Linked DNA regions of Homo sapiens: all the other regions are linked to region 6. Evidence: promoter capture Hi-C in 16 types of primary human blood cells and fetal thymus (Javierre and others, 2016). All regions are on one chromosome and are shown on one strand. The core of a region is centred on a gene start or on the middle of the fragment in contact, and the rest is flanking DNA. Distances in the headings are between cores, read along the strand shown.

The links. Contacts are between HindIII fragments. The CHiCAGO score rates a contact against its expected background, and 5 or more counts as called.
Region 1: a fragment that was not itself captured here is called in contact with the fragment with the promoter of ZNF583 in region 6 in 1 of 17 cell types (naive CD4 T cells); the score reaches 8.4 in naive CD4 T cells.
Region 2: a contact is called between a fragment that was not itself captured here and the fragment with the promoter of ZNF583 in region 6, in 1 of 17 cell types (total CD8 T cells). The highest score is 5.9, in total CD8 T cells.
Region 3: a fragment that was not itself captured here is called in contact with the fragment with the promoter of ZNF583 in region 6 in 2 of 17 cell types (total CD4 T cells and neutrophils); the score reaches 6.5 in total CD4 T cells.
Region 4: a fragment that was not itself captured here is called in contact with the fragment with the promoter of ZNF583 in region 6 in 1 of 17 cell types (neutrophils); the score reaches 5.4 in neutrophils.
Region 5: a fragment that was not itself captured here is called in contact with the fragment with the promoter of ZNF583 in region 6 in 1 of 17 cell types (naive CD8 T cells); the score reaches 5.4 in naive CD8 T cells.

Annotation. Positions count from the first base shown.
Region 1 is chr19:57,185,389-57,188,599 of GRCh38, forward strand. No RefSeq gene overlaps it. Among named protein-coding and RNA genes, the nearest start is that of ZNF264, 4.5 kb to the right of the region's middle. The HindIII fragment of the contact is 5,081 bases long and covers 1-3,211 here.
Region 2 is chr19:57,168,410-57,171,767 of GRCh38, forward strand. No RefSeq gene overlaps it. Among named protein-coding and RNA genes, the nearest start is that of DUXA, 2.6 kb to the left of the region's middle. The HindIII fragment of the contact is 3,945 bases long and covers 1-3,358 here.
Region 3 is chr19:57,321,906-57,325,519 of GRCh38, forward strand. ZNF543 (zinc finger protein 543) reads left to right here. Exons shown (of 4, transcript NM_213598.4): 2 at 1,777-1,903. Among named protein-coding and RNA genes, the nearest start is that of ZNF543, 3.2 kb to the left of the region's middle. The HindIII fragment of the contact is 4,027 bases long and covers 1-3,581 here.
Region 4 is chr19:57,244,903-57,248,136 of GRCh38, forward strand. The region is part of intron 2 of ZNF805 (zinc finger protein 805); the gene reads left to right. Among named protein-coding and RNA genes, the nearest start is that of ZNF805, 5.9 kb to the left of the region's middle. RefSeq lists an enhancer at 1,139-1,433. The HindIII fragment of the contact is 5,225 bases long and covers 1-3,234 here.
Region 5 is chr19:57,098,145-57,101,830 of GRCh38, forward strand. No RefSeq gene overlaps it. Among named protein-coding and RNA genes, the nearest start is that of USP29, 20 kb to the right of the region's middle. The HindIII fragment of the contact is 7,444 bases long and covers 1-3,686 here.
Region 6 is chr19:56,402,801-56,406,359 of GRCh38, forward strand. It overlaps ZNF583 (zinc finger protein 583), which reads left to right and starts at 1,532. Exons shown (of 5, transcript NM_152478.3): 1 at 1,532-1,652. RefSeq lists an enhancer at 956-1,095 and a silencer at 1,556-1,765. The HindIII fragment of the contact is 8,045 bases long and covers 1-3,559 here.

The sequences.
Region 1 (3,211 bases), core at 384-2,883, 780 kb after region 6:
TCTCAATTAAAAAAACAAACAAACAAAAAAAAAACTTAGGATCCAGCAGTGAACAAAATCATCACTGACGCTTACCCTCATGGAGCTAACATTCTGGATGAAAAGTCAGAAATAAACAATAATTATAATACAGAAATAGACATGATAAGTTAACCAGTGCTATAACAAAAAGAAGGAAAAGGAGAGTAAGGTGGATCAGGGTGTCAGAGTTTGGGGAGTTGTTTGCAATTTTCATTAGAATGATCAGGAAACAGCTTATTTAGAATGTGACATAGATCAAAGTCTATAGGGAGATGAGGGGCTGAGCCATGTGGAGATTGGGGTAGGAAGTGGATTTCCTGCCACAGGCTTTCAAGCAAGCATATAATATCCAGGGCTGGGTGCTGTGGCTCACGCCTGTAATCCCAGCACTTTGGGAAGCCAACGTGAGAAGATTGCTTGAGGCCAGGAATTCAAGACCAGCTTGGGCAACATATTAAGACCCCCATCTCTATTTTTTTTAATCTTTTTTTTTTTTCTTTTGAAACGGAGTCTCGCTCTGTCGCCAGGCTGGAGTGCAGTGGCCCGATCCCAGCTTACTTCAATCTCTGCCTCCTGGGTTCAAGCGATTCTCCTGCCTCAGCCTCCTGACTAGCTGGGATTACAGGTGTGTGCCACCACGCCTGGCTAATTTTGTATTTTTAGTAGAGACTTCCCCATGTTTGCCAGGATGGTCTCGAACTTCTCACCTCGAGTGATCCACCCACCTCAGCCTCCCAAAGTACTGGGATTACAGGTGTGAGCCACCACACCTGGCCAAAATAAGCCTTTTTTACTGTATTTATTTGAAGATTAAAGATGGTTTAAGGTGACAAGGGGTAGAGTATGATTGCCAACTATATGTGTAAACTTGTTTAGGCTGTACTACCCAGAAATTGTATTAAACACTGACCAGGGTATTGTTATGAAGGTATTTCATAGAAACGGTTAACATCTATAATCAGTTATTTTGATAATGTAGGTGGTTCTTATCTAATCAGTTGAAAGGCCTTAAGAGAAAAACAGGGTTCCCTGGGGAAGAAATTCTGCCTCAAGACTGCACCTTCAGCTCCTATCCACGTTTCAATTCTGCTGGCCTGAACTCTAGCCTACAGATTTGGGACTGGCCTGTCCCTGCAATCACATAGCCCATTTCTTCTTCTATCTTTTTTTAAAATTTTTATTGTAGGCAAGGTGGGTGGCTCACACCTGTAATCCCAGCACTTTGGGAGGCCAAGGTGGGCGGATTATGAGGTCAGGAGTTCAAGACCAGCCTGGCCAACACAGTGAAACCCCATCTCTACTAAAAGATATAAAAAATTAGCCAGGCACAGTGGCGGGCACCTGTAATCCTACCTACTCAGGAGGCTGAGGCAGGAGAATTGCTTGAACCCAGGAGATGGAGGTTGCAGTGAGCCAAGATTGCAACACTACACACCAGCCCGGGTGACAGTGCCGAGACTCTGTCTCAAAAAAAAAAATTATTGTGGAGGAATGGTCTCACTATGCTGCACAGGCTAGTCTCTTAACTCCCGGCCTCAAGAGCCGGGTCTGTCCTGTAGACCCTGGCTGAGCGATGGATGAAAGGAGTACTCAGACACAGGTATGTAGTGTAAGAGCAGCTAGGGGACTGCTGAAGAGTGAGCAGTCTTGATAAGCTGGGACTGCTTGCTTTTATTCAGTACAGACATAATGCCAAAAGCCTGGAGCCAACACAGTCTGTGGGTAATTAACATTATTGTTCCCCCTTTTGGGGGCAGCCTCACTCGTGAATGATCAAATGTTGGTTCCTAGTTAACATAAGTAAACAAGCCTGTTTATGTTAAATTCCCCTACACTTCCTTGTACCTACTCCTTGCCCTCTGCCTTAGGGTAAGAGAACAGCTGCTTTCAGCTTATTCTCCCGTGAAGCTATGCAGAGACTTCTGACCTTTCAGAAGGTTTGCGTCCTTTTCTTATAGCTTCTCCCACCACTCTGACCGATCTCCTACACTCAAGCAATCCTCCTTCCTCAGCCTCCCAAAGTGCTGGGATTACAGGCATGAGCCACCGCACACCACCCCCATTTCTTGCAGTAAAATATGTGTGTGTGTGTGCGCGTGTGCGCGCGTGTGTATTCCATTTCTCCCTAATACCATTTCTCAGCTGCATGAATCCTTAACTCATGAAAGATACTTTTTATCCTCTTGACTCTACAGTTAATGGAAAATAAAAATCATCAATAGTGACTTCTAAGATTGCTTAATATACCTTTCTGGGAGGACAGTTAGAACTCCTAATGTGAGCTTGTCAGTTTCTTGTGAAAACCAACCCAGTTGTCCCATAGAACTGATGTTTGTGGTTTCTTTTGACTGAACCTAGAAATTGACCCTCCCACTCTTAAAACTTGAGAAAAGTACATTTGTCATAATCGTTTGTCACAGAAATAACCAAATTTCCTTGTCCATTGTTTTTTAACTATGGTTGTCCTAAGACTTTTGTCATCCACAATTATTGTTTGACTTTGAGTCTTCTCCAAAGGTGGCTTACAGTCAGCTACAGTTCAGGGCTTCTTTGAGAGAGTTCATAAAAAGAACACTTGAATTCAAGTTTCTGGTAACTTTGGAGATTGTCCTATCAGCCTAGAGAGAAAACTTCCAGGACTCTAATTAGAAGGCTGATATATTCATAAAATACATAATTATGTATACATATGTTTATGCAATATGAAGCAGAGCAGGAGTTTCATGGACTGTACTAATTTATTTCATGATAAATAAAAATATTTTATTATATAGTATATTAAGCCATCTTAGAAGTCACTGTTGATGATTTTTTTTTCTCCATTAACTGTGGAGCCAAGAGGGTAAAAAGTATCTTTCATGAGTTAAGGATTCATGCAGTTGAGAAATGGAATTAGGGAGAAATGGAACACACACACACAAACACAGAGATTTATTTCAAGTACTGAATTTATTTTATTATTTTTTGTGTGTGTTTGAAACATTGCTGATTCTTTTTGTTTTGTTTTTGAGTCAGGAGAACTTTTTTTGTAAATCTACTTTCTGTCTCTATGAAACTTTTTTCTTTCCAGCTATTTATAGCCTTTAACAATTGAATATACATTTGTAAACAAAATTTGAGGGCTATTTCTCTCTCTGCCTGATTTCTCCAGAATTCAGAAACTATTTGTGAATATTCTTAATTCACGGCA
Region 2 (3,358 bases), core at 147-2,646, 770 kb after region 6:
GTGATATGAATTTCATTTATTGATATATTTGACTATCCATAAATAAAATTTGGCCAGATATCAAGCCATTTTGGAGAAACAATTTCGAACCAGGAAAATGACATGAAATAACATTTAACAGGAAAATTTTACACTTTATTTAATTAAAACAATGATAAATTGTTTTTCTTTTCTGTATATGACATTTCATCACAATATTTTTTCACCAAATTTGTCTGGAAATCTAGAGCAGAATTTTCTGCTGTTTGTTTATATTGATGTTTATATTTTGATGTAAATTATATGTACATCTACTTGAACATTAGTATTACAATTATAAATGTGCTTTAAATTAATTGACACAATATTGGATATTCATTATAATTATATTATCATTAAATATATTATATTAATATATAATATTAATAATATAATCTTGATATACCATATAACAGATATATTACATATTATATTTACTCCAGTTAAATATTATATTTACTTTTTAGCTTTATTGAGGTACAGTTGACAAAAATGATATATATTTAAATATACAATTTGAATTTTGATATACACATATAATTGAATCCCAGATTCAATTACCATAATCAAATCAAGCTGATTGATGTATTTACCACCTCAAACCACACCCTTTGTGTGTGTGTACATATATATTACATTATATTATATTTACTCCAATTATTGTATTTACTTTTTAGCTTTATTGAGGTACAGTTAACAAAAATGATATAAATGATATATATTTTAAATATACAGTTTGAATTTTGAAATACACAAAAGATATAATTACCATAATCAAATCAAGCTGATTGATGTATTTACCACCTCAAACCACACCCTTTGTGTGTGTGTACATATATATTACATTATATTATATTTACTCCAATTAAATATTGTATTTACTTTTTAGCTTTATTGAGGTACAGTTGACAAAAATGATATAAATGATATATATTTTAAATATACAGTTTGAATTTTGAAATACACAAAAGATATAATTACCATAATCAAATCAAGCTGATTGATGTATTTACCACCTCAAACCACACCCTTTGTGTGTGTGTACATATATATTACATTATATTATATTTACTCCAATTAAATATTGTATTTACTTTTTAGCTTTATTGAGGTACAGTTGACAAAAATGATATAAATGATATATATTTTAAATATACAGTTTGAATTTTGAAATACACAAAAGATATAATTACCATAATCAAATCAAGCTGATTGATGTATTTACCACCTCAAACCACTCCCTTTGTGTGTGTGTACATATATATTACATTATATTATATTTACTCCAATTAAATATTGTATTTACTTTTTAGCTTTATTGAGGTACAGTTGACAAAAATGATATAAATGATATATATTTTAAATATAGTTTGAATTTTGAAATACACAAAAGATATAATTACCATAATCAAATCAAGCTGATTGATGTATTTACCACCTCAAACCACACCCTTTGTGTGTGTGCATATATGTTACATTATATTATATTTACTCCAATTAAATATTGTATTTACTTTTTTTTTTTTTTGAGACAGTGTTTCACTCTTGTTGCCCAGGCTGAAGTGCAGTGGGGTGATCTCAGGTCACTGCAGCCTCTGCCTCCCAGATTCAAGTGATTCTCCTGCCTCAGGCTCCTGAGTAGCTGGGATTACAGGCATCTGCCACCACGTCTGGCTAATTTTTTGTATTTTTAGTAGAGATGGGGTTTCACCATATTGGCCAGGCTGGTCTCGAACTACTGACCTCAGGTGATCCACCTGCCTCGGCCTCCCAAAGTGCTAGGATTACAGGTGTGATCCACTGCCCTGGGCCTTGTATTTACTTTTTAGCTTTATTGAGGTACAGTTGACAAAAAAGATACATATTTTAAATATACGATTTGAATTTTGATATACACATATAATATGATATGGTTACCATAATCAAATCAAGCTGATTGATGTATTAACCACCTCAAATTATACCCTTTGTGTGTGTGTGTGTGTGCGGTCAGAACACTTTTTAAAAAAAATATCCTTTTCTCCCCCATGCAGAAGAACACTTAAGGTCTATCCTTGTCGCAAAAAATAAAAATCTATCCTCTTAGCAAATGTCAAGTAGTATTGTTTTTTTCATTTCTGATCATCCAATTTAAAATTTTTTTTTCTAATTTGTTAACTATGTCACATAATGTCACAATGTACATGTCAAATAACGTCACTATGTACCTTAAATCCCCAAAACTTATCTTGCAAAACTGAAAATTTGTACTTCTTGACCAACATTTCCCCATTTCCCCTTCACTCAAGCCCCCGGCAACCACCATTTTACTCTCTGCTTCTATTTTTGATCCAACCTCACTGTTTGTGTCCACGCTCCTTAATTTTCTTGGTCATGAGACCACGAGCTTAGATAACACCTTAGACAATGAGACCAGTGACCCTGACCTGTTTCAGTTTAGTTATTTAAAATATTTTTCTTTCTTTTTTAAATTGTATTTATTTATTTATTTGTTTTGAGAGGGTCTTGCTCTGTCGCCCAGGCTGGAATGCAGTGGTGCAACCATGGCTCACTGCAGCCTCCGACTCCTGGGCTCAAGCGATCTTACCCCCTAGGGCTCCAAAAGTGCTCTGACAGTAAATGCATGAGCTACCATGCCCAGCCATCAAATTTTCAATCATTATAAATCTTAGAGCTGGAAATAATATCTCATTGTTTTATTTTTAATTTGAGCGCTAGCGTGCTTGAACACTTTTAATCAAATGTATTTGCCATATTTTATTTTTCTTTTATTAGCTTTCAGATTCTTTGCTTCTTTCTTAGGTAGAACATTTCTTTGAGACTTAAATATTATGCTGCATTTGTCCTATGTCCTGCAAGTGTTTTCTTAATTCAGTATTTTAAAATAATATTTTGTTTTTATGTTTTTTGTATCTTTATAGCATTCTTCTAAATTGGATCTATGTTTATTTTAATTGTCTAGTCAAAGTACTGACAAGGAGGAGTGAACTTCCTGAAAACGGAGAACAAGATGTGATGCCTTTTAGTAAATGTTTACCAAAAGACACAGGATTCCATTTCCAATTCCATATCGAGAACCTTTAAAATTGTACATAAAAATGCAGGTGAAGTCGTGGAGAAGGGAGGCCAACAGTGCACACAGGTAGTGCCTCTGGGGAAGAATCAGAAGTCATCCTGCATCCTAAATTCCTGACCTGACTTTTCTGCAGGGCGAGTATCTGACCTGTGCTACACCATCAGCAACACAAAGAAAACTTGATGAGCTTTTATTTCCTTTTATTTGTATGTTTCACTCCAGTTTTCAATTCCGTGCCCTCAAAAGCCCGGATATCATCACCGG
Region 3 (3,614 bases), core at 318-2,817, 920 kb after region 6:
GTTTATTGGTTGTTTAAGGAGTCCGCAGGGGACCCGTGTGGCTTCCACAGTGGTTTCCTGAGTGGTTTTCTCCTATACCAGCTGACACATGTCTTGGGACACAAGATTTTGTGGTCTTTTGCTAGATGTGCCTTCCTCCTTAGCCAGGACAGACATAGCCAGTCAGGGGCCCATGTTCTCATGGCTACAACCTGCTGTGTCCTCTGTGACTCTTGTTCCTTGCTCCTGAAGTATCCTGACCTCAGGGATACTTGTTGGTAGGACTCAAACAGGAAAAGGTAGTGATAGCTCGTTGTGGATTCTTCCTATGAGAATGGGCATCTGTGAGGCCCAGAAGTGTCCGAGGCAGCAGATGCAGGTCCAGGCCCTGCCACTTTTGAGGCAGGTGCCACCACCTCAGGTGACTCTTCTGTGAGGTAGGTGATTATGACTATGCTGCTCTGCCCAGGTCCATGAAAATATTTCAAGTGGCTAACCCCAGCACAGTGGCATGTGTCTGTATATCCAGCTTGGGAGGCTAAGGCAGGAGGATCATGAGTTCAAGCCCAACCTGGGCAAAATATTGAGACCCTGTCTCAAAAAAAAAAAAAAAAATCCTGAAAATATTTTCAGGGTGGCTCAAATGGATGTATTTCAATGTTTCCCATCCTCATTAACTGTGCATTAACTTTGCTAATGAAGGAGTGTCGGGTTGCATGATTAGAACATAGACCATAGGGCCCTGGGTTCAAATTCTGTCTCTCCTGATAAGAGATGTGACTTTGGGTAGACTAGTGGAGGTCCTGGACCTCAAGTCTCTGAGTGTGACATGGAGATGATGATGGTGAACTCAGGAGCTGTGGCCCTTTGCCCCAGTGTTTCCTTTACAGCTTTTCTTCAGATCTTTTGACTATTCTTGGTGAAGTGGAAAACCCTGTTGTGTTGACCTGGACATCAGGGCTCAGATAAATGAAATGAGATTTCCAAGGTCACATAGCAGGCTTGTGTTGATTTCAGGAATTTGGTTTTAAACCTCAGGAGTCTGACTCCTGAGCTGGGGACTTTTAGTCACTTTACCATGGCATGTAAAGCCATTAGCATGAGGCAGGCTCACAGGGAGGATCGGTAAGACTCAGGTGCTGTTCTTGTTGTTGTTGCTGGTGTTGTTTTTGTTATTATTCTTTCCCATTCCTCTGATGTCTCAGAGCACTTACTGTCTTGCCTCTCAGTCCCCTTAGGATTGTCCTAACCTTATTTCTGTGTGAAGTGGCTTTCTGCATAGGAGGCTTCTCTCTCTTCACTGCTGTAATTTTTTTTTTTTTTTTTGAGACGAGTCTCGCTCTGTCACCCAGGCTGGAGTACAGTGGCACGATCTCGGCTCACTGCAAGCTCCGCCTCCCGGGTTCACGCCATTCTCCTGCCTCAGCCTCCCGAGTAGCTGGGAATACAGGCGCCCGCCACCGCGCCCGGCTAATTTTTTTGTATTTTTAGCAGAGACGGGGTTTCACCATGTTAGCCAGGATGGTCTCGATCTCCTGACCTCGTGATCTGCCCTTCATGGCCCCCCAAAGTGCTGGGATTACAGGCGTGAGCCACCGCGCCTGACCGACACTGCTGTAATTTATCCAAGGCAATGTCCACATTCCCCTCATGCCTGGCACAGATCATGGCCCTCTAGAGATGCTTGGTGATTTGATTCTTGGGTCACTGCGCATCTTTTGCAGTGCTGAAGTGACAAGTTCTAGTTGTATTCCACAGTTCCAAGGGAAACACTACTATCTCTGTTTAATTTTCCAGGTGTCTGTGACCTTTGAGGATGTGGCTGTGACATTCACCCAGGAGGAGTGGGGACAGTTGGATGCAGCCCAGAGAACCTTGTATCAGGAGGTGATGCTGGAGACCTGCGGACTTCTCATGTCTCTGGGTAAGGCCCCTTCTGGTCCTGTGCTCCCTTAGGATTGAGTTCTCCTACTCATGTTCCCCTCTCTCCTCCACAGCCCACTTGTTCTGAGGCTCCTGGCACCACGCAGGGGTGTTCACCATTGGCTCTGAGCGTAGCACTTGGGAGACCAGGGTCTGGTGTCCAGGAGTCCACTCCCATCTCCACTGCTCATGATCCCTGTGTTCCTGGGCAAGTTAAGGAATCCCTCTGTGCCTCAGTTTTTCTCATGAATAAAAAGGGCCAGGCCAGGCACAGTGGCTCATGTCTGTAATCCCAGCACTTTGGGAGGCCGACGCGGACAAATCAGGAGGTCAGGAGTTTGAGACAAGCCTGGGCAACATGGTGAAATCCCGTCTCTACTAAAAATACAAAAAATTAGCCGGGTGTGATGGCGGGTGCCTGTAATCCCAGCTACTCAGGAGGCTGAGGCAGGAGAATCACTTGAACCCGGGAGGCGGAAGTTGCAGTGAGCTGAGATCTCATCACTACACTCCAGCCCAGGCGACAGTGTGAGAGAGACTCCGTCTGAAAAAAAAAAAAAAAAAAGGCCAATATAGTATTTGTTTCATAGGGCTAGTGTGAGGGCAAATGGTTCAGTAGAGTGTGTTGTGATAGGTGGCTGGGCGCAGGTTAGCAATTGTGACCTCTGTTGCTGTCACTATTGTCACTGCTGTCTAAATCATTGTCCTCATAATCAGCAGTATCACACTTGGACTCCGCAGTTTTTGGAACAACTTTGTATAGTTTTTTAGTTAAATTGGCCAGATGCTTTTGATGACTAGACTCAGGTGTACATTTTGGCTTGGCCATTCGCCATTTCCCAGATTTTGGCAAGTCACTTTATCTGCCTGAGCCTCGATCTCTTCATCTATAATGTGGTCCTGATTGCAGTACATTCTTAATGTGCATCCTGTGAAGAAATCCTAAAATAGAATTTTTCATGCAGGGACCATAGGAGTAGCAATGTAATGCTTTGCTTAGAATGTAAAAAAAAAGCCTTAGGTCAGTGAAGAAACTTACCTTTCTCCTGAATGGAGACTCAGTATCTCAAATATGTTATTTCTTTTCTAAACTAATGACTAAATTTAATTGAGTGTTTATAAAATACAATGCATTTAAATTGCTTGGCATATTCCCTAGGTTATAGTTACATTGTATAAATATCAGTTATTGACATACTATTAGGAGTAAAGTTCTATGGCCAGGTGGCATATTGATTAAGGACTTGGATTTGAGAGCCACAGCAGCAAAGTCTCTCCAAGAAGTGACATTTGAGCTGAGACCCAAAGAGTGAGTTGATTAGAAGGAGCAAGATAGAGGAGCAAGTAGTATTCCAAGTAGGCAGGCTGGCATGTGCAAAGGCCCTGAGGTGGTGAAGAGCATGATCCTGACAAAGCTGAAGGAAGGTCTGATTCCCCTTTTTCACTGCACTGTCATTGAACCCAGTGCCAAGCACATAGCAAAAATGAGTGAACATTTGCTTAGAGATGACTGATGAATCCCACCCTGTGTTTTTGTGGGTCCTACTGCCTGTGCCATTAACTTCTCCATAGAGTACTTATGTCTTTTACCCCCTTATATTTTGAAAAGTTTTGGGCTATATGTGCAGATCAGCTCATACAGTCTTAACCCTGAAGGAAATATATTATCTCACCTAATAAGCTTAGTGGTAAGGCTGGCTCCTGGGTTGGTG
Region 4 (3,234 bases), core at 18-2,517, 840 kb after region 6:
GCCTCCATCTCTCACCCACTGCCCAGCATAGACTGGCCTCTGTCTGCAGTTTTTTTTTTGAGTTCCAGAGCGGGATCTGCCTGGGTGGGCCTGGTTGCTCATGTATCTGCTCCACAGCCCAGTCTGTGGTGTAAGGGTTGGTGGGATGTTCACTAAGAAGGGTTGAGTCAGGCAGGCCCCAAGGAGACATTGACCTTCCGTCCCACCAGGTGTTATTCTAAACAACCTTCACGTCCTTCAATCACCTTCACATCCTCTGATTCTAAAGTCACTCTGCTGCAGCCTTGCTGGGCTTCTTGCTATTTCCCCAAGTGCCCACCCACCTCAGGCCATTGCATTTGCTGTTCTCTTTGATGAGTGTTCTCAGGGTAATTCAGCATTTCACATGGCCGCCCCTTCTCAGCACCACTTGCCTCCTCACCCAGCCCTTCCCTGACCACCGAATCTTGGGGAGGCCCCTTTCTCACCATAGCCTCCTCCCTTTACCTTTTTAATGTCTTTCTAAGCTAGTGTTTCTCAAACAGGGACGATGTTGAGCTTCAGTGGACACTGGGCAATGTGTGGAGACATTTTGGTTGTTAAAACTAAGATGATGGGCCAGGTGCGATAGCTCATGCCTGTAATCCCAGCACTTTGGGAGGCCGAGATGGGCGGATCACAAGGTCAGGAGATAGAGACCATCCTGGCTAACACGGTGCAACCCTGTCTCTACTAAAAATACAAAAAATTAGCCGGGCGTGGTGGCGGGTGCCTGTAGTCCCAGCTACTCGGGAGGCTGAGGCAGGAGAATGGCGTGAACCCAGGAGGCGGAGCTTGCAGTGAGCTGAGATTGCACCACTGCACTCCAGCCTGGGCGACAGAGCGAGACTCCATCTCAAAAAAAAAAAAAACCTAAGATGATAACATTGACAGCTAGTGGGTGGAGATGCTGCTAAACATCCTTATAATGCACAGGACAGATCCTTTCTCCTCCTCTTCCCCCGATCTCACAAACAAAGAATTACCTGGACCTAAATGTCAATTGTGCTAAGGCGAGAAGCTCTTTTTCAGAGAGTGCTTGGACAGACACTACATCAGCTGGTGCTGAGAGACACTTGAGGAAGTTGTTCTTTTATTTCTTCTCGTCTTGTCTCCTTAGCATTTGAGGAAAACTCTGGTTTAGTGCTGAGACTTAACGTCCTGCAAACTGTTGGTAATTTCCCCTTTTCTACAGAGGGAGCAGCCTTAGGCTCACAGCCCTGAACAAGCAGCATGAGCTCACAGGGACCAAAGAGCACTGTTTGTTTGTCTTGAGACAGAGTCTCGCTGTTGCCTCGGCTGGAGTGCAGTGGTTTGATCTTGGCTCACTGCAACCTGTGCCTCCTGGATTCAAGCATTTCTCATGCCTCAGCCTCCTGAGTAGCTAGGATTACAGGCAGGTGCCACCACGCCCAGCTAATTTTTGTATACGTTGTTTTGATTTATTGCTACATTTTCATGGTTACCTGCCATCAAGACAAGTGACTCTGGATTTTCCATTTACCAGAGTGATAAGGATTCCATTTTTGAAGAAATCTAAGAAAAATAAAAAGTGGATCACTTTTAAGAAAAGCAGCCCGGGCATGGTGGCTCATGCCTGCAATCTCAGCACTTTGGGAGGGCAAGGCAGGCAGATCACGAGGTCAGTTGATAGCGACCATCCTGGCCAACATGGTGAAACCCCGTCTGTACTAAATATACAAAAATTAGCTGGGTGTGGTAGCGCATGCCTGTAATCCCAGCTACTCAGGAGGTGGAGGCAGGAGAATCACTTGAACCAGGGAGTTGGAGGTTGCAGTGAGCTGAGATCGCGCTACTGCACTCCAGCCTGATGACAGAGCGAGACTTCGTCTCAAAAAAAAAAAAAAAAAAAGAAAAGCAGTTAACAGTCCAGATCCCCAGAGCACTGATTGGGTGTCTCAGGCCTGTTCCAGGCAGTGTTCATGCTCCATTTATTCTCACAGGATCCCTGTCCTCAGCAAAGTAAGGAAAATTTAGCCACTCCTGTGAGTCCCTCATCCAGTTTAACTTACTCAGCACAGATGAAACACCTTCATTTTATGAAGCTATCACTGAATGTTTTTGTGTAGAAAAAATTCTTCTCTTGTGAACTTTTTTTTTTTTTTTTGAGATGGAGTTTCACTCTTGTCTCCCAGACTGGAGTGCAGTGGTGCAAGATCATAGCTCACTGCGATCCTCACACCTTACCGTCTCCAGTAGCTGGGACTACAGATGCGAGCCACTGCGCTGCTATATGAAGTTTCTGTAAATATCCTTATGTCACCATATCACAGTAGGATGTTCAGTCTTTAAATATTTTAATGGTTCGTGAAATGCTGGGGTCTGGAGTCACTGACCTGCCCCTCATCCTGGCCGCTGGTCCCTGAGGATGAATCCTCCAGCTCACATCTCTGCCTCGTCACCACCCTCTGCCACCCACTCTGGTGCTCGTGGTTTCCTCCTTACTGTATTTCTTGGGAGAGTAGGGTTTGAAGCCAGAACGCTGGTGTCCAGCCCCAGCTCTGCTCTTTAAAAACTCCATGGCCTTGGGCAAGTTACTGAACTTGCCTGTGCCTCAGTGTTCTCATTGTTCAAATGAGGACTTAACCATATTCGCATCCCAGGGCTGTTGCCAGGGTCAAGGGTTATTTTATGAAAAGGCTCAGAACAGCACCTGGGAGACCAGGCTGCGTGCAGGGAGCCATTACAATCTCTGTTTCCACCAGTACTATTACCGTCGTCCTCATCATGATTATTGTCGTTGGCATGCCTTGACCTGGCACTTTCTGGGCAGCGTTGTGGAGCTTTGTGGTTAAACAGCACAGACAGAGATGGCAGGACCTGGGTTTCCTTATTGACTCAGCCATTCTCCAGTTCTGTGCTCTTCAGCAAATCACTTTACCTCCCCGAGCCTGGGTTTCTTTGTCAACAAAATGGTGTTGATTATGATATGGACTTCCTGGGTATACCGTGAGGAAATCCTCAACTGGAATCCTCATTTAATGGCTAGGCATGGTGGCTCACGCCTGTAATCCTAGCACTCTGGGAGGCCTAGGCGGGTGGATCACCTGAGGTCAGGAATTCAGGACTAGCCTGGCCATCATAGTGAAACCTCATTTTTACTAAAAATACAAAAAAATTAGCCAGGCATGATGGCACGCGCCTTTAGTCCCAGCTACTCAGGAGGCTGAGTGAGCGGAGATCGCGCCACTGCAC
Region 5 (3,686 bases), core at 149-2,648, 700 kb after region 6:
TCACTCGGGATCTCATGCCGGCTCCCGGCTTGGATCACAGACGCTGATGGCTCAAAAACGTGTGTCTGGGTTAGAGAATCCACCTGTCTCCCTTAGCTCTGCACTGGGGTTGCCCAATTTAATAAATAAAAATACAAATTGCCTGGTTAAATATGGATTTCAGATAAACAATAAAAAAGAATCAACTTTTATTTTAGAATCGACTTAGATTTGGCGAAAAGTTGCAAAGAGAATAGAAAGTTTTCCTTGTTCCTGCACCCAGCTTCCCCTGTTAGTAGCGTCTTACACGAGTATGATTTATCTCAATATTAGTGAACTGGCCAGGCACGGTGGCTAACACCTGTAATACCAGCACTTTTGGAGGCTGAGGCAGGTGGATCACTTGAGGTCAGGAGTTCGAGACCAGCCTGGCCAACATGGTGAAACCCCATCTCTACTAAAAAATACAAAAATTAGCCAGGCGTGGTGGTGAGCACCTGTAGTCACAGCTACTCAGGAGACTGAGGCATGATAATTGCTTGAACCCAAGAGGCAGAGGTTGCAGTGAGCCAAGATTTTGCCACTGCACTCCAGACTCGGCAACGAGTGAGACCCTGACTCTAAAAAACCGTAAAAATAAAAATAAATAAATAATTGCCAAGTGTGGTGGCTCATGCCTATCTATAATCCCAGCATTTTGGGAGGCAGAGGTGAGCAGATCACTTGAGCCCAGGAGTTCAAGACCAGCCTGGGCATCATGGCAAAAACCCTTCTCTACAAAAAATACAAAAATTAGCTGGGTGTGGTGGTGCAGGCCTGTAGTCCCAGCTACTCGGGAGGCTGAGGCAGGAGGATTGCTCAAGCTGGGGAGGCTGCAGTGAGCCAAGACAGCGCCACTGTACTCCAGCCTGAGCCACAGAGTGAGACCCTGTCTCAATAGAAAAACAAATACATAATAAATACATAAAACGCCCATGGCAGGGACACACACGCTGGTTTGGGTTGGAGCCAGCCCGTAAACCCAAATTTGGGGGCCCGGGCTCTCGGCTGCTGCAGCACTGACTACCGTTAAGGTACAATAAAACTGACACATGGGCAGTGAGGGGAATTTGCTCTCCTGCCTCCCTCCCTAAGTTCATCTGCTGAGAAAAATGCTTTGAGATAAACCTGGAGCCACAGCTCTCTGCACAGTCAGATCGCAGGAACGCGGCCTAGCTGCTTCAGCCACGTTCTCGCGGCGCCACCTGGTGGCCATGGACCGCCATCGCCGCTGGACGTCAGGGCCGCCAGGCCCAGCGAGATGTCACCTCCTCTGAGGAGCCTTCCAGGATCGCACCCGGCACGCGCTCCACGCCTCGTTGTCTGTTCTTCGGAGCACCGACCATGATCACAAATCAGCTCGCTCGCTGTGTTTCCTGCCGGGTCGCTACCGCCATGATCCGCACGTAGTGGTCAAGGCTGAGGTTGTATGAATGTGGACGTTATAACCCTGGCTCCCTCTCCCTCCCTATGCTGGGCTCCCCTCGATCCCCAGGCGGTGGGGTGCCCCTGGTTTTTCCTTTTTAAAATTATAAGTCTGGCCGGACGCGGTGGCTCAGGACCGTAATCCCAGCACTTTGGGAAGTCGAGGGAGGGTGTATCACTTGAGGCCAGGAGTTCAAGACCAGCCTGGCCAACATGGTGAAACACCATCTCTACTAAAAATACAAAAATTTGCCGGGCATGGTGGTGTGCGCCTGTAACCCCAGCTACTTGGGAGGCTGAGGCAGGAGAATCGCTTGAACCTGGGAAGCAGAGGTTGCAGTGAGCCGAGATCTCCAGCCTGGGTGGCAGAGTGAGCCTTCGTCTCAAAAAATAAAAAATAAAAAAAAGGTTAAATCAATTTAAATGTCAATGTCCACAGGAGCTACAGATGGTACCAATAGCTCCCAGCTGGGGCTCGTGTATCATTGGTCAGGGCTTCATCAGGATTGGCTACTGCCCCACCCTTGTTAAACATTTTTAATATCTTCCTTGTCTACCAGGGTCAGGCACCTCAGGTAGATGAATGAAGGATGGGGGGGATGGGGGAGGGAGATGGAAGAGGGAAGGGAAGCAGAGGGAGGAGGAGTGAGTGGGCAGCCCTGATCGGAGGTCCCTCCCCATCCCATCTAAAGGGGCTCCCTGGCCGGGCGCAGTGGCTCACACCTGCCATCCCAGCACTTTGGGAGGCTGAGGCGGGTGGATCACCTGAGGTCAGGAGTTCAAGACCATCCTGGCCAACATGGTGAAACCCCGTCTCTACTAAAAATACAAAAAGTAGCCGGGTGTAGTGGTTCATGCCTGTAATCCCAGCTACTCTGGAGGCTGAGGCTGGAGAGTCGCTTGAACCTGGGAGGCGGAGGTTGCGGTGAGCCAAGATCGCCCCACTGCACTCCAGCCTGGGCGACAGAGCGAGATTCCGTCTCAAAAAAATAAAAAATTAATAAAATAAAAATAAATAAATAAATAAATAAAGGGGCTCCCTGCTCTTCTGCTCCAACCTGTGGCTGCCGCATAGGAACATGGGTCACAAAACCCAGAAATCTGGATTCCTTTAAGTGAAATCTTCCAAATTTTATGTTTAAGAAGGTCATGTATTTATTCCTTCCTAAAGACCATGCTGACCAAATCAAATGAGTCTGTGGATAAGTGTGTCCAGGCTTCAGACTACTCCCTTTTGGAGCCTGTGGTGTAAAGGGAACAGCTTAAAGTCCCTCGCCCCAGTCAACAGGGGAATTTAATGTCTTGGGTTCCCTGGCAGAACTTTTCTGTTTTTTTTTTTTTTCTCTTTATCTAACACTTCCATGTGTCTTACTGAAAGCCAGCTGCAGAGTTAGAGCAGCGTTTGGCAGAATCAAATATGGACTAGCGCTTGCTTCTGTACGGCCCTCAGGTTAAGCATGGATTTTATATGTTCAAATTGTTGAAAATAAATCAGGCCAGGCACAGTGGCTCACACCTGTAATCCTAACTCTTTGGGAGGTCGAGGCAGGAGAATCGTTTGAGCCCAGGAGTTCAAGACCAGCCTAGGCAACATAGTGAGACCCCCCACATCTCTACAAAAAGTTAAAAAATTGGCCGGGTGCGGTGGCTTAGGCGTGTAATCCCAGCACTTTGGGAGGCCGGGGTGGGCGGATCACCTGAGGTCAGGAGTTCAAGACCAGCCTGGCCAACATGATGAAACCCCGTCTCTACTAAAAATACAAAAGTTAGCTGGGCGTGGTGGTGAATGCCTATAATCCCAGCTACTTTCGGGAGGCTGAGGCAGGAGAATAGCTTGAACTCGGGAGGCAGAGTTTGCAGTGAGCCAAGATGGCGCCATTGCACTCCAGCCCGGGCAACAAGAGCAAAACTATGTCTTAAAAAAAAAAAAAGTTAAAAAATTAACTGGGTGTGTTGGCACTTACCTATGGTCCCAGCTACTCAGGAAGCTGAGGTGAGAGGGTCATTTAAGCCCAGGAGATCAAGGCTTCAGTGAGCTATGGTTGCACCACTGCATTCCAGCCTGGGTGACAGAACAAGACCCTTTCTTTATTCAAAAAAGAGAGAAAAGAAAAAAGAGAGAGAAAGAGAACAGAAAAAAGAAGAGAAACAAAGAAAAGAAAATGATATTTCATAATATGTGCAAATTATATGAAATTCAAATCTTGGCTTCCATAAACAAAGCTGTGTTGGCCCATGGTCAC
Region 6 (3,559 bases), core at 282-2,781:
ATATTGTGAAATATATATTTGATCTTCCTAGCATAGAACTTCTAAAATCCTTAGAAACTACAAAGTAACAGTAAAAACTCATTTTGTATGCTAATGAGTTGACAGCTGGCAACCCCTATAGAGTTTCAGGATGGGGACTGGTTATGGAAAGACCAAGACATGACTAGAAGGTTGGGACATTCAACCCCACCCCCAACCCTAAGGAGGGGACGGGATTTTAATCAACCATGCCTATGTAATGAAGCCTCTGTAAAACTCCCAAAAGACAGGGTTTAGAGAGCTTCCACCCAGCTGAACATGTGGAGGTTACTGGAAGGTGCAACACCCTTTTTTCTGTACTTTGCCCTACGCATCTCTTCATCTATATCATTTGTAATATCCTTTATAATAAACTAGTAAACATAAGTGTTTCCTGAGTTCCGTGAGCCACTCTAGCAAAATATCGAACCGCAAAGAGGGGGTGGTGAAAATCCCAATTTGAAGGTGGTGGAGTCAGATGTTCCAGAGGCTAGACTTTAGTGGGAAGTGGGAAGGGGGAGGCAGGCTTGGGGACTGAGCCCTCAGCGAATGGTGTCTGACCCATCTCCAAGTAGACGGCGTCGGAATTAAACTGGAGGACACCCAGCTGGTGCCCGCTGCAGAACTCACTGAACTCATTGCTTGCTTGAGATGTGTGGGAAACTCCCCTATATTTGGTCAGAAAAGTCTTCTGTTATGATTAGTTGTCGTTGAGATAATAGAAAAAAATGCACCTTGCGTTTTTTCCACTGATTCAGAGGGCATAACTGAAAGAATGAAGAACTGAAAGAATGATCTTAATACTCTGCTTCGCTTTTCTTGATAATACGCATTACTTCCCAATATGCATCAGTGTCCTTTATTATTAATTTTTTCCTATTGAATTCCTCCCGCATTAGAATGCTGCTCCATGAGGTGGGGATTTTGTCTGCTTGTTCACTGCTGTGTGCCCAGGGCCCACGACAGTGCCCGATACAGCAGGCGCTCAATAAGTGGCGAATGAAAGACAGGGCAAGGCGGAGAGAGAAGAAACAGAAAGGGAAAGAGAAAGCCCGGGCCGCCAGAGCGCTTAATCACACGTACATCCTACCGGGCCCCTCTCCAGCTGGCTCAGGCTCCACACTGGTCCTCCAGCTCCCTTTTCTCAGCGATGGACTCACAGCCCCACCCGGAGCGCTGGAGCGCGGACGCGGTCACTGCGCGTGCGCCTCACCGCGCTGGCACCCCGGCCTGGCAGCCTTTGGGGACCTGAACCAGCTGCGCCTGCGCAGGTGGAACGGGTGGAACGGGTGGGGGAGCGGACAGTCGAACGGCCTGAGAGGGCTCAGCTGGTCCGGGTGGGATTCTGAAGGCCAGCGGAGGTGGGCTTACTAGGGAAAGGGGCGCAGCAGTAACTACCCGCAACTGAGCGGCGGGATCTGCGGCCGCCCGGGGCCCTCGGCCAACATCCCAGCATCCTCTGCGCCGCGCCGGCCCCGGACTCCATTTCCCAGCGGCCCCTGCGGCCTGCCCTAGGGCTGCGGCGCCTTTGTGAGCGCGGCCGCCGGCCAGGATCGAGCCCTGGCCCGGGCCCTGGCCCAGCCCCGGCCTCCAAGGACCGCGCCGAAGGAGGTGCCCACTGGAGGGAGGAGGCGGTGAGGAGCGCGGGATGGAGCTGACGCCGGGAGCGGCCATGCCACCATGTGTGGGACCGTGTGTGACAGTGTGTGAGAATGTGTGAGACATTAAGGAACCGTGTGTGACAATGTGTTTGACAGTGTGGAATCGTGTGTGAGACCATGTGTGACTGTGTGAGAATTTGAGACCGTGTGTGACAGTGTGAGAATGTGAGGCCGTGTGTGAATATGTGTGTCAGTGTGAGACCATGTGGGACAAATGTGGGACTATGTGTGACAGTATGAGACTGGGTGTGAGAATGTGTGCGACAGTATGAGACCGTTGCCCCGGTGTATGCGGGAGCCTTTGACAGTATATGGGACCGTGTGGGACTGTGTGACACTGTATGTGCTTAAGACCACGTCACCATGTGTGAGACTGGGAATGTGTGACAGTGTTAAACTGTCATTATGTGTAGACCACGTGTGAACAGTGTGTAAGACCATGTCACTGTGTGTGTGACCTGTGTGTGTGGGATAATGTAAGACTGTGTGACAGTGTGTGTGACTTTGTGAACAGAGCTTGACCGTGTGTGTAGGATTAGATGAGACTGTGACAGTATGTGAGACCATGTCACCGTGTGTGAGGCTATGTGTGGTTGTGTACGGTGTGTGGCTGTTGATATGGGACCACATGAAACTGCGACAGAATTTGTGTGACAGTGTGTGAGACTGTGTCACTGTATGTGAAACTGTATGTGAACAGAGTTTTTGTTGTTGGACTAAGATTGTATGTGACAGTGTTTGAGATTGTGCATGACAGTGTGTGTGATTATGTGAGACTGAGGGAGATGGTGTGACTTAGCACTGTATGTCATCCCGACAGTGAGTGTGACAGTGTGACTGAGAATGGCCTTATATGACCCATTGTGAGAGCAGGGCGGGCTACAATGTGGGGGCATGTCCATAGGTTGCCAGGGGAGGTGCCAGAATGAGAAACTATGTGGTTTGTTGTCTGTGATTTGTGTGGGCAGGAAGCTGTGTGGGTGCTTGGAGATGCTGGTGTGCTCTGGGGTTTGGGAGACTGCTGTTGTGGTGGAGAGACAGAAAGATTGAGATAAAGGGGAAAAGATGGAGAAAGGGAGGGACGAGAGCTGAAAAGGGAGAGACAGACAGGAGCCTCAGCCTTAAGCCTGAAAAGCTGACCACGCTGGCTGCTTGTCCTCTGGCACAGTAGTTTTTCCATCCCTCTCAGTCTCTGGGGGCACGTGAGGAATTTAAAAGGAAAAAGGAATGGGAGACCTACCATGTGCTGGTTATGAAAATAAATGACAGAAAGATGAAAATTAAGCACTGTGCTCAATGCTTTATGTAGATCATTTCAGAATCCTCCCAACAATTGATAGGGAATAGTTACCATTTCACTGATAGAGAAACAGGTTTGCAGTGGTTACCTAACTTGCCAGAGGTTGTATAGGTAGCATGTGGTGGTTTGGCTGTTTGAGACCAGGTGTTCTGATCCTTAAGCCTAGTAGTTCTTACCACTGAGTTATGCCACTTCATAGGTAATGGCTTTATTCTTCAAGGCAGTGAGGTCTGCTGGACAAGAATTCACCATAGGGGGTTTGGATGACTGTTCAAGCATAGCCTGCTCCTCCCTCCCTCTCTCCTTCTTTCTGTCTGAGGAGATTGCCCAGAAAAGTCAAGAGATTAGTTTTCAGTTGTGGGTTGTCATAAGCCAGGACCAGAAGTAGGCCGTCTTGACTCTTTGATCGAGTGTCCACCACACTACATGGACCCTCTGATACTCACTCTGTGTATAGAGATGCTTTCTCTGAGAAATTTCACTTTGTAGCTTTATCTGTCATCCTTGCAGAAAGGGTGGGAACATATTTCCTTTCAACATCATGATCGGGTGGAAAGAATTAAAAGTTAGAACTGGTTTC